2 separate regions of the Homo sapiens genome follow, and region 1 is linked to region 2. The links are contacts of gene promoters, found by promoter capture Hi-C in human tissues and cell types (Jung and others, 2019). All regions are on one chromosome and are shown on one strand. The core of a region is centred on a gene start or on the middle of the fragment in contact, and the rest is flanking DNA. Distances in the headings are between cores, read along the strand shown. Region 1 has its middle 71 kb from the start of FAM9C. Region 2 holds the start of TCEANC (transcription elongation factor A N-terminal and central domain containing).

Region 1 (6,305 bases), core at 3,693-6,192, 540 kb before region 2:
TTGGTCTTGAATCCTAACTCTGCCTCTTTCTACTGTGGCTAAATTATTTAACCTCTTCATACCTCAGTTTTACCATCTTTAAATTGGGTGTAATAATGAGATCTATCTTATAGCTCTGTGAAGATTAAAGGAGTTGAAATTGGAAATGGTAGGTGCTCAACTGTGTTAGTTTTATTTCTTAAAAAAGTGAACAGATGATCCTTTTCATGTCCTTGCAGCTTTGTTCCATGCCCACTGCTCCCCAAAAAATTAATCCTTGGGCAAAATATTTTATCATAATAAATTATTATATATCAAATCATCTCCCTTGTAATTGTTCCGTTATACAGGGCAAAAATCTTACAGGAAAAAGTGTCTCCAATCCACACTCAGTATGGCATGCTTACTAAATATACAACTGGCAAAAAAAAGTTGGTGGGGGAAGAGTGGGAGAAAATTTTGGAGCCATTTGAAGCTCTAAGTGACCTAAGCATTTGCACCATCTAATAAAATTTGATGAATCATTTTCAGTTATTAAACATAAAAAGGATTTGCTTATGCATGGCTATGTTTGAGCAGATTTGGTTGATACCTCATACTTTCCATTAATTATAAACTATAAAATGGGAACAAAATGAGAACAGTGAGTTAAGGCTTTTTTTTATTTTCTTTTTTTTTTTGAGATGGAGTCTTGCTTTGTCGTCCAGGCTGGAGTGCAGTGGCGTGATCTCGGCTCACTACAACCTCTGCCTCCCGGGTTCAAGTGATTCTCCTGCCTCAGCCTCCTGAGTAGCTGGGATTACAGGCGCCCGCCACACCTGGCTAATTTTTGTATTTTTAGTAGAGACGGGGTTTCACCACGTTAACCAGGCTGGTCTCGAACTCCTGACCTCAGGTGATCAGCCCACCTTGGAATCCCGAAATGCTGGGATTATAGGCATGAGTCATTGCGCCCAGTCAGAGTTAAGGCGTTTTAAAAATAAAATTTCTGACATCTCTACCACTTAAGAAAATGTCTGCCACCATCCTTGTGGAAGGTTTGAAAAATTATAAATATGCCAAGTGGATCTTTATCCATTCTTCCAAGCATTCCTCTTATGCTGCTGGGATGGTTTGACTCTAATTATACTGGAAGTTCAAGTTCAAAAAAAGTTTAAGGGGGAAATGTGTGGCTGTGAGCTGACTTCTATGAAGCAACCTGGATTAGGATGCCAGTGAAAGAGGACCTGGGGGTTGGTTGGTGAGTGTGGCTGAAACTTCTCTGATATAAATCCATTCATTTGTGTGCCCTGAGGTGTGGGCACTCCTGGGGGCTCTGAGATGCCAGGCAATGGTCACTCCTGACTTCCAGTCACCAATACCAGCTTGTCCTCGTGGTTAATCTCCTATTCCCTTTCTACATATGTCATCAGACTCCTCAAACAGTTCTTAAACAGCAATATAGTATTACCAAATGAGGAAAGAAAAGGATAAGAAGCAACATATACAAAATGGTCTCAATTGTTTAAAAAACACACATAGGCCAGGTGTGGTGACTCCCGCCTGTAATCCCAGCACTTTGGGAGGCTGAGGTAAATTGCTTAAGCCCAGGAATTCAAGACCACTGTGGCAGCCTGGGCAACATAGCAAGACACCTGTATTTACTAAAAACAAAACAAAACAAAAAACACACACACTGGGGAATGAGATTGGAAGAAAGGACACTAAATGTTAGCAGAGTTTATACTGGGCTTTTAATTTGTAGCTGATTTATATTTTTTCCTTTATGCTTGCCTGTGTTTTCTAAAATGTTTATAATAGACCTATGCTGCTATAATCATAGAACAAGGAATTAAGGGCCAGATGTGGTTGAGTCACGCCTGTAATCCCAGCACTTTGAGAGGCCAAGGTGGGCAGGTCACCTGAGGTCAGGAGTTCGAAACCAGCCTGGCCAACATAGTGAAACCCCATCTCTACTGAAAATACAAAAATCAGTTGGGCCTGGTCATGGGCGCCTGTAATCCCAGCCACTCAAGAGACTGAGGCAGGAGAATTGCTTGAACTCAGGAGGCAGAAGTTGCAGTGAGCCAAGATTGTGCCACTGCACTCTGGCCTGGGCAACAGAGTAAGACTCCATCTCAAAAATAAAATAAAATCTATTTAGAAAAATATCCATATGACATGGTGAGAACTGGCTGGGCAAGTGCTCCACATGGCCAGTTTGCAGCCACGTGTAAGAGGCGATATCTTGTGAAAGCTGATTATACAAATTGGGTCATTCTTGTCATGCCCAACTAAATCAGCATCAAGGGCCAGGGGGAAAAAGAACTTGGGGAACATAGCCCCTGCTCCAAGAATTGAATTTTCTACAAGCCCAGCTGCTGAAACAGCCAGCTGAAACCTGAAGAGCAGTTTTACCTAGCAGCTGCTGAAGCAACCTGCTGTGACTCCAAGCCTGGTTTTACCTACCACAGTCACTCACTGTATTCGTCCATTTCGTGTTGCTAAAAAGGAATACCTGAGGCCGAGTAATTTATAAAGAAAAGTTTATTGGGCTCATGGTTTTGCAGGCTGTACAAGCATGGCACCAGCATCTGCTTGGCTTCTGGTGAGGCCTCAGGAAGCTTTTACTCATGGCAGAAGACAAAGAGGGAACAGACATGTCACATGGCAAGAGAGAGAGAGAGAAGGAGGGCATAGTCTCTCTAACAACCAGATGTTGCTGGAACTAACTGAGTGAAAACTTGCTCATCACCAAGGGGATGACACCAAGCCATTTATGAGGGATCTGCCCCCTATGACCCAAATACCTCCCACCAGACCCCACCTCTAACATTGGGGATCACAATTCAACACAAGATTTGGAGGAGACAAACACCCAGACATCCACTCACCAATCAGAGCTTGCCAGCTCCCAAAAGCTTCTCTAGTGCCAATAAGCTTTCTTTCAAAATGATAATGTAACATTAGCATCTCTTTTTCTAATAAAACTCACAACCTTCTCTTTGTTCTTCAGACATACCGAAGACCACCCAGTCTGTGTGTATGCCCCAAACTGCAATCCCTGCTTCCCAAAATAAAATGTTAAATTTAGAGATTCATCTCTATACTTTATTTTGGCTTTGACAATCTGATTGAGAGAAAACTCAGCTGCCTCTCAGACAAGCCCAAAAGTATTACCAAATGAGGGAAAAAAAGATAAAGAGTTTCTTACAAGCTTCTATAACATCTGTCCATATCCCTGATTACCCTTTACAGCTCATGGGCTCAGTTAAAAACGACAACAGAAAAAGACTTGAGGTAGAAATAGCAGGGACAGGGTCACCTGCCAAAAAGTCCTTACATCACACCCTGCTCCTAAGAGTTCTGCCTCTTTACTTACTGGTAGTTTCCTGATAACATGTCCCCAGTCCTCCTCCATAGGTGACAACTGGGCTGCAATTGGAGCTCAGAGCAGAACTCACCAGGAAGGAAGCAGTGTGTGTTTCACAGTCCACTGTTGAGCTAATTATTCCCAGAGGCCTACGGGACTACACAGGCTTATATTGACCATTGTCAGCAGTCAGTGCCTCCCTTTTTTGAATTGTACATTGCTGGTTAACTCTGTAAGTTAAGAAGGGAGAGTATCCATTTCTTCACCTGCTGACCCAGAGCAATTTCCTTTCTTCAAGAAAAGGGAGAAGGTTATGATTTCATAAAAGCTGCCACTTCTCTTTGGATGGAAGACTAGATTTGCTACAGACATTTTCACCTTGTTATGAATTTGTCTGTTTGCTTTTGCTTTGGGAAATGGTATTTAGTGGGCAAAAGAATAGCTTATTTTTGAAGCACCAATGTGGAAAACAATAGTTAAAATATTAATATCTGTTGAAGAATCCATCAAAGGGTATACCATTTATACAAACGATAATGACTTCGGAAAATATGGCTTCAAAGGGATTGTTATTTTTTGTTTATAACCTAAAGAAAATCCCTATCTAGCAAGAGGAATTCCAATTACTTCATATATTTCTTTTTTTTCCCTCTTCTTCTTCTTTTTTTTTTTTTTTTTTTTTTTTTTTTTTGAGACAGGGTCTCTCTGTTCCCCAAGCTGGAGTGCAGTGGCACTATCACAGCTAACTACAGCCTCGACCTCATGGGCTCAAGCAATCCTCCCACGTCAGCCTCCCTAGTAACTGGGACTACAGGCACACATCACTATGCCTGGCTAAATTTTTTTTTATTTTTTGTAGATACAGGGTTTCACCATGTTGCCCAGGCTGGTCTCAAGCTCCTGGACTCAAGTGATCCACTGACCTCAGCCTCCCAAAGTGCTGGGATTATAGGTGTGAATTCCACGCCCGGTCATACTCCACAGATTTCCGATCTGACTTAAGAGCCCTCTTCCCCATCTGCTCTGCTGTGCTCTACCATTATTTCTTGTCTAGGCTTATATCATGTGATCTCCAAGGTCTCCCTTTGACTAAAGCAATTTGTGTATGTGTCTTGTCTTCCCTACTCAATTAGAAGCTCGTCAGGGGCAAGTGAACATACTGTTCCATTTGTCTAAGGTCCACATTGCTTATCTCAGTTCCTGCCACATATTAGTAGCACAATCAGTTCTTACCAAACAAATGAATCTTAAATATATTCATTGGTCATTTATTCCTTCATTCAGTTAGTCACTCAACAGATATTGTTTGAGCACAACTATACGCCAGTCATGTTCAAGGTGCTGAAGATACAAACTTAAACAAATGAGGCTGAGATCCCCATCCTTAGGAAACATATTCTATTCAGTTTGACCTGTTACTGTGAAAACCTTTAATCTCCTTGTTTAAGGGTCTAATTGCTGATTTCTGGTAGTTCATCTGAAAGGCGGTAGGAGTATATATTTTTTGTGGCCTTTCCTTTTTCCAAGGATGTGTTCAGGATCAGGAAGCAAATAAAGCCTTTAAAGAAAACCTATGAGTTCAAAATTTGCCCCAGAACATTGTGTGGCTAAAGGTACAGCCCCAGATAGATCCCTCCCTCATTGAGGAGTTGGGGCCCCGTGCATAATCTGAAAGGGAGGGGGTGAAACAAAAGGATGTAACTCACCTGTTATCGGGGGAACCCACCCCCGATAATTCAACGTGGGTCCTTTTCTATTTTCCCTAAGTATTTCTCGGCCAGTCCGAGAAATAAAGGGAAAGAGTACAAAAGAGAGAAATTTTAAAGCTGGTTGTCCGGGGGAGACATCACATGTCGGCAGGTTCCATGATGCCCAATGAGCTGCAAAACCAGCAAGTTTTTATTAGTGATTTTCAAAAAGGAAGAGAGTGTACAAATAGGGTGTGGGTCACAGAGATCACATGCTTCATAAGGTAACAAAATATTACAAGGCAAATGGAGGCAGGGCGAGATCACAGGACTGGGGCAAAATTAAAATTGCTAATGAAGTTTCGGGCACGCATTGTCATTGATAACATCTTATCAGGAGACAGGGTTTGAGAGCAGACAACTGGTCTGACCAAAATTTATTAGGTGGGAATTTCCTCATCCTAATAAGCCTGGGAGTGCTACGGGAGACCGGGGCTTATTTCAACTCTTATCAGCAACTGTAAAAGACAGACGTTCCCAGAGCGGCCATTTCAGAGACCTCCCCCTAAGAAAAAGAATTCAGTGATATTTCTCCTATTTGTTTTTGAAAGGAGAGAAATATGGCTCTGTTCTGCCTGGCTCTCAGGCAGCCAGACCTAATGGTTATCTCCCTTGTTCCCTGAACATCGCTGTTATCCTGTTCTTTTTTCAAGGTGCCCAGATTTCATATTGTTTAAACAATTTGTGCAGTTAATGCAATCATCACAGGGTCATGAGGTGACATACATCCTCAGCTTATGAAGATGATGGGATTAAGAGATTAAAGTAAAGACAGGCATAGGAAATCACAAGAATATTGATTGGGGAAGTGATAAATGTCCATGAAATCTTCACAATTTATGTTCTTCTGCCGTGGCTTCAGCTGGTCCCTCCGTTCAGGGTCCCTGAGTTCCCGCAACAACCTGTGATAAAAGACACCCTTGAGTCACCCTCTCCCCCCTCTTCCTAAAGTTAAGAATTTAGGAACTCTGTGGACTTAGAAAATGAGGAGCCAGGATAAAGCTGTCTGTGTGAATTGAATGGTAGCTGGTCATTCCAGAGGTGTTCAGAAACCTAGATATGACCTAGGAGGAAGGAGACCCACAGTACCTGAGCCTAGGGTGGAGTTGGGAGCAAGAAGAGGCAGGCAACCTCTGGAAAGTGGAAAGTAATCCACTGGGAATTCTCATAAATTTTAGGATGAGTGCAAGGCTTCCTAGAGCCTGTGTGATTGAGCCCTAAGCTGT
Region 2 (6,661 bases), core at 2,567-5,066:
CAGGGCCGCTGGGTTGTTCCCATGGGCTAAGTGCACATCAAGCAAGCAGCTGGGCCTAGGCTGTCTTGGAAGGACCCTGACCAACAGGCCTGCAGGTGAGGTAACCCGACAGAAAAAGTTTGTGTGGGATGTGCTACCAAAAGCAGGAGCCAGCGGTTAACCAGAGGGTGCAGCATCTGAACCATGGAATGGGTAATAAGGGGCTACCAGCAAAGGGAGGGTCCTCCAAAAAATCTCCAAAGTGGGCCCCTCCAAAGAACAAAAGAGGTATTAGGTTGGTTTAAGCAATCTGTGGCCCACCAGCCAGGGACTGCCTGACCCGTTGAACTAGCTCTTCTGGAAGCCTCTGGGGATGTTCACTGGAGATACCATGTTCGCTGCTTCTCTGTCATTTCACCTGCATAAGTCTGAGAAATATGTTGCAGAACTTAAACATAAAGTTTCTGTTTCTATAATGTATGACTTTTTGTTCTATTTCCTAATATTCTGTAACTCCTGAGATTTCAAGGGAACTCTTCATCGTTTTAATCCCATGCCTTATGTACTGTGACTTATAAGAACATCCCCAGTTAAGCCCAGTGTCTGGTCCTGGTGTTTTATCAGGAAATGAACACCGGCCGGCACCTCAGAACCCAGAAAGAGGCAGTTTCTATGACCTCATTCCATGGAAAACATCTGTAACTGTTCCCTCAGCAATGTGTAACATTAGCCTCTGGAGAAGGCCCATAAGATTTTGTCTCTCTTCCGTGGGAATTTGCAGGAAAGGGCTGTCTGCATGAGCTCAGAATATCTATTAATATATTGCCACTCAGAGACTTAATAAGGATTGAAAAGAGGTTTCCGCTGCACTAAGGGAAATTTATCAAAGAGAATTCCAGAGTATTGAAGCAGCTGAAAGATGATTTTAAAACAAAGGCCTGAAAACTATGCATGATAAATTATCATAGATGTGAGTACTTTTATAGGTATTCCATTTTTAAATTGCCCAAAAGAACAAACTTTTCAGCAACCTCTTTAGAATCCACTGGCAGCCCTAGATTCATTCCAGATGAACTCAGCCAGAAATTTCTACAGCAATGAGCATGTTCTATATCTGTGCTATCCAATATGGTACCCACTAGCCACAGGTGGCTATTGAGAACTTGACATTTAGCTAGTGCAACTGAGGAACTGAAGTTTAAATTTTATCTGAATAGCCACATGTGGCTACTGTAGTAGACAAGGCAGGACTACGCAGTAATTATAGCTTGCCTCTTAGTTGAAATAATGGTCTTATCCTTCACACCAGAGAAAACACTAGGTTGTTTTTGATTTTAGACTTTTGAGTAATTTCTGTTTTTTTCTTCAGCATAGAGTTCATGAGAAATTGATTATAATATGCCTCAAAGCTCTAATGACCACTTCTGTAGTAACTTCTAGTTTCCAAACTGACTCCTTCAGATTGAGCCTTTCATAGTTTGAGTGCCATTGTTTTGACAAATATCAGATATTTTAAGAATTGCATGTTACAAATCTGATCACAAAGAAAGTATTTTTCCTAGGTAACTGTCTAAAACTAGAGATGGTTGGTCTAGGAGCCAATAGTCCTTCGGATTTTTAAATCAGTGTTTACAAAGTGGGGCAAGAGTACTCATAAAATGAACCAAAAAAGTAACAATGAGAAGAGAAATACCATTAAAGCATGTTAAATTAAATAAGCAGGAGGCTATTGGCTCAAGGCTGTCTCTGTACTTTGATTTTCTACACAATGAATTGCAATTTAACTTAGTACATAAATACACTGAAAGCTTAACCTAAGGAAGAGTATAATAAACAGCCAAGTCTCAGCCAAACACAAGCAGACAAGCTTCAGCCAATCACAAGCTGCCAACTTCTCAGATCATATCCAAATGATCTGATCATTGATTGCAACCAATCAGCCTATTTCTGTATTTTACTTCCATTCTCTGTCTATAAATACTCACGGCCCACAAAGCTCTCTGAACCTATTCTGATTCTGAGTGCTGTCCGATTCATGAATCATTCTTTGCTCACATAAACTCTGCCAAATTTAAATTACGTCAATTTTTTTTTATTTTAACAGGCAAAAGTAAAGATTATCAAGCATTCTTTTCCAACCAAACTTTAGTCAGTCTCCTGACTAGGCCTATCTGTGCACTTCCTTGTAAAATCCAGTTTTAGCAAAAAGCCTTGATAAATCAGTTTAGCCAAAAGCAACCACCCTCAATATCTGATCACCCTTAATATCTGATTTGGTTCCTCATCCTCCACCAACCTCCAGGTGACATCTGATCACCCTGGCCCGTCTTCAGCAAGAATCTTGTCAGGTTGGTTTAGACAGAATCCCCCTTACCCCTGATGTTTCCTCTTAATAATTTTCCATCCACTGACCCCCCTACCTTGCTCCTTGGCTATAAATTCTCACTTTTCCATGCTACAATTGAAGTTGAGCCCAATCTCTCTTCCCCACTGCAAGACCCTGTTGCAGTGGTACCTATGTCTATCTCAATGGTCCTGAATAAAGTCTTCCTTACCATGCTTTAACAAGTGACAAGTGTCATTAAATAATTTTTTTTTTTTGAGACCAAGTCTTGCTCTGTCGCTAGGCTGGAGTGCAATGGCTCGATCTCAGCTCACTGCAACCTCCGCCTCCCGGGTTCAAGCGATTCTCCTGCCTCAGCCTCCCAAGTAGCTGGGATTACAAGCACGTGCCACCACGCCTGGCTAATTTTTTGTATTTTTAGTAGAGACGGGGTTTCACCGTGTTAGCCAGGATGGTCTCGATCTCCTGACCTCATGATCCGCCTGCCTCGACCTCCCAAAGTGCTGGGATTACAGGCATGAGCCACCACGCCCAGCCAAATAATTTTTTCTTTAAAAAGGTATTATATAATCCTTAAACATTTTAGCCCTATAATAGACAGCAAGAAAAAAGTAACCCCTGACAGCTCTGAGCTGCCCCGGCAGTCACAGCTGGGCCTTGGTGCTGCGTGGAACATAAATACTTCACAGAACACCATCAGACGTGGCCACTCTTTGACCAGATGGATCAAGACAAAAACAAGACTCCTTCGTAATCACGTGGGAATGCTGAAAAAACGTAAACATTGTCCAAACCACAAAAATGACCAAACATCCCCTATCCCAGTTAATGAGTCACTGGTCTTGTCTCCCCTCCTTTTAGGTAAGATTTATTATGATACTTAATCATACAATCGCCCTCCTTCCTGCCAGCACCCAGTCCAGAGTATTGGATTGGATACTCTGTTTCCCTGAACCTTTCCCCAAATTACCTTGGGGTAAGGCATCAGCAAAGGAGGCTGTCACATTCGTTCAACCATCACTGTGCTTTTACTGGCCCTTTGCAGGCAAAGAATGAGAATATGCACAGATGAGAAGTCCAGGATGCACAAGACCACTCAATTAACATTTACTACTTTCATATCAACTGATGCATGCTAGGATGCTAAAAACACTTTTTGAATTAATTACTGCGTTAAATAGATTCACATTTATGTCTACAGTTATGTGAACATCTAGCTGAGCACTGTCTTGACTGTCCTGAGTAGAAGCAGAAAAGATAAGTTGTAAAGTACATCAACAAACTTTGCTGCTAAAAAACGAAAGTGCAGTTTCTTTCTCTCGGGCCCGGGGCGGGGCCATGGCTCCTCCTCTAGGAAGCCGCGCGAGCGCAGTCCCACGGCAGCCATTTCCCTAGCGCGCATGCACTGGGTCCCAGGACCACGTGCGCCGGCCTGTGGGCTTGGATTGGCTGAGCCTTGACGTTGTCCCAGTCCCGGTGATCGGAAGTTCTCCGTGGGCACTGGGCGGCTGAAGGCTCCGGAACTGCGCCTGCGCTTTTCGGTGAGTCATGCTTCAGGTTTGCCAGGGCCTGTGTCCCGCAAAAAGGCGAGCCCTTATTCCCAGCGGAAGCCCACCCCGGCTCGCGGCAGCTTTCCGGTGCGCCCTGGGCGGCGTAGATCCGAAGGTGCTCGCACCCCCGCCCCTTCCTCTCCGACTGTCGAGGTCGCCAGAGTGGGCTGAACCCTCGGGACTGTCGCTGTTTGTGTGCTGGGTGCCGGGCCGTCATCCCAAGATGATTAGCGGCAGGCTTTGCATGTTGCTCGACCCCACCCACCGGAACTCGAACCCGGGCTAGACCGGGCAGTTGGGCTGGTCCCTTCCTCTCGCTGCACCTTTACTAGGGGTCACCATTAAGGGAAATGGTCCTAGTGCAGTGCTGAGTGGCTGTTCAGTAACCGCTACACCGCTGCCAACATTTGGCATCGTTTCTCTCCATAGAGGGCGGGGCTCCCTGTGAAGCTGGGGAGCTGTTAAGTGGGTTAGGGCTAGAAAGTTACAGTTTCTCTTTAGGCTTTAAAGAGATCTAAAGATCTGAACAGATCTAGGTTATTTTTGACTTGTTACAAACTTCTGGAAACATTGTTTCCAGACCTTTCCTCTCGTTCTTCTCAGGGTTTAGGCCATTTTTGTGCAGATGTGTGCACCTTGCTTACTATAATATTAGCTAATCTTTATAAGTTTTTATATGGATCCAATACCATATTTCGTGCCTACTTTTCCTGGCACTGTATACACTTTTTGGTATAGGTATGCACCTAAGCAAGCATTATCCATATTAGCATCAGTTCTAGAACCGTGGCGTCCCAATAATGATAGCCATTAGTTACATAAGGCTTGATCACTTGAAATGTGGCTAGTCCGAATTGAGATGTGCTGTAAGTGTAAGACACAGTGAATTTTCGAGAATTAGCATGAAAAAGAATGTAAAATATCTCAATTTGTTTATATTAATCACATGTTGAAATGACTATTCTGGATACACTGGGTTAAATAAAATGTATAATTAATTTCACCAATTTTTATTTTTTAACATGACTACTGGAAAATTTTAAATCATATTTGTGGTTTACATGTTATATATATGTTGCACAGCCCTGCTCTAGAAAAGGGTCAACAAACTATGGCCTGCAGCCAAATCCAGCCTGCCTGTTTTTGTAAACAAGTGTTACCAGAGCAAGATCATGCCTATCCATTTATGTTATTTTCTGTATCTGCTGTTGCTGCTACAATAGCAGCAGAGTTGAGTAGTCCATAGAGATTGTATGGCCTACAAAGCCTAGAATATATACCTTCTGATCTTTAACAGAAAAAGTGTGCTGACCCCCTGCTGTAGAACAATGCCTGGTTTGGTAGATATTTTTAAGCCTTTTAATTGTAGATTCACATCCTATTATTCACACTTACTGTGTGACAGCCATAGTTCAAAGCACTTTATCAAGACTTTCATTTAATTCTCATTAATCCTAGGATGTTGGATTTCTCCCATTTTGTAGATGAGGAAATTGAGGCACAGAATGGTCAAGAAACTTATCCAACTTGCTCAGCACCCCTCACTTCTGGGAACTGGACCTGCTTGACCTTCCTTATGCAAATGTTTTGACCCCTCAAACCCACTTCATTAGCCCACAGTGGGCACCATGGTTTTTTTGTTTGTTTGTTTGTTTGTTTTGTTTTTTTTAACAAGATTTATTTGAACTAGAATTTTTGAATGATTTTTTTGAACTAGAATCGAGATGGGCTTGGTCTCCTACGAAAGAAGCCAAGGGGCACTGGGCTTAGGTGCAATGAGTACAAGCAAGCTGGTGTGTAGTGAAAAGAAATGAAGCTCCCAAGCAGAGAAGAGAGAGAGCATCCTGGATGCTCATTACTCATTTAACAACAACAAAAATGTGTTAAGTAATAGTAAGCACTGACTGGGTGTTTGCTAGGTGTGTATAGGTGAATAAAACATGTGGATCTTCTCTTATGGTCTTGTGGGGAAGGCAGTAAAAACGTTTTTTAAATGTGATTAACACCATGAAAAAAACTTGCAAATTATTTACTGTTTTTAGCAGGTTTCCTCACCTGTAAGATGAAAATAAGCCATTATCTGTATTGCAGGAGTATTGTGAGGATTGAGATGACTGGAGTGTGTGTGGCCTGGAGAGTTGCTCAATAAATATATGTTGCCTTCCACTGTGAAGAGGTAAGTGAGAGGGTGAATATCAGGAATTGTGTACATTATGACACTTAAAATATTACAGTTGTCATTTGTAATTTGTAGAGAAGGTTGTCAGCTGCATTGTACACAGTAGGTGTTTTAAATCTTTTCTGACTGAATGGGACTCATCTAGAAAAGCCAGTCATAGAGTTGTCTGCATTCGGTCCAGGAGCAGAACCAGAGCTGTCTTTGGGGCTGATGGCAGCCTAACTGGCAGGTCCTGCTGGGGTGTGGAAGAGGGTTGTATGCCTGTGTGTGGTTTAAATCAGAGTCACCCTGGAGAGCTGAGCCAATATGCAGGCCCTACCCTCAGAGATCCTAATTCATCCTATCTGGAGTGAGGCCCTGCCATTGTTTGTTTTTGTTTTTTGTTGTTTAATTTCCCCAGAGGATTCTAATGTGCAGCCAGGCTTGAGAACCACTAATGGTGAGAGATCAGCCAGGCTCGGGATGCTGCTTGAGCAAAGGCACAGAGCCGTGCCCATCAGTGGTTGCGAGTAGTCAAGAGGGAGGCCTGCTAGGGCTCTTTTTGCCACTGGCCAAGGAGCTTTGGCTCCATCATGAAAGCAAGGGGAAACCTCTCAAGGGCTTTCAGCA

The links. Contacts are between HindIII fragments. The study calls those that stand out against the background at their distance.
Region 1: a fragment that was not itself captured here is called in contact with the fragment with the promoter of TCEANC in region 2 in 1 of the 25 tissues and cell types used here (bladder).

What each region holds. Positions count from the first base shown.
Region 1 is chrX:13,112,255-13,118,559 of GRCh38, forward strand. No RefSeq gene overlaps it. Among named protein-coding and RNA genes, the nearest start is that of FAM9C, 71 kb to the left of the region's middle. The HindIII fragment of the contact is 4,425 bases long and covers 2,731-6,305 here.
Region 2 is chrX:13,649,325-13,655,985 of GRCh38, forward strand. It overlaps TCEANC (transcription elongation factor A N-terminal and central domain containing), which reads left to right and starts at 3,817. Exons shown (of 5, transcript NM_001297563.2): 1 at 3,817-3,864; 2 at 5,965-6,049. LOC107985657 (a long non-coding RNA gene) reads right to left here and starts at 4,115. Exons shown (of 1, transcript NR_171573.1): 1 at 3,173-4,115. RefSeq lists enhancers at 3,500-3,689, 3,950-4,039 and a silencer at 3,618-3,929. The HindIII fragment of the contact is 15,832 bases long and covers 777-6,661 here.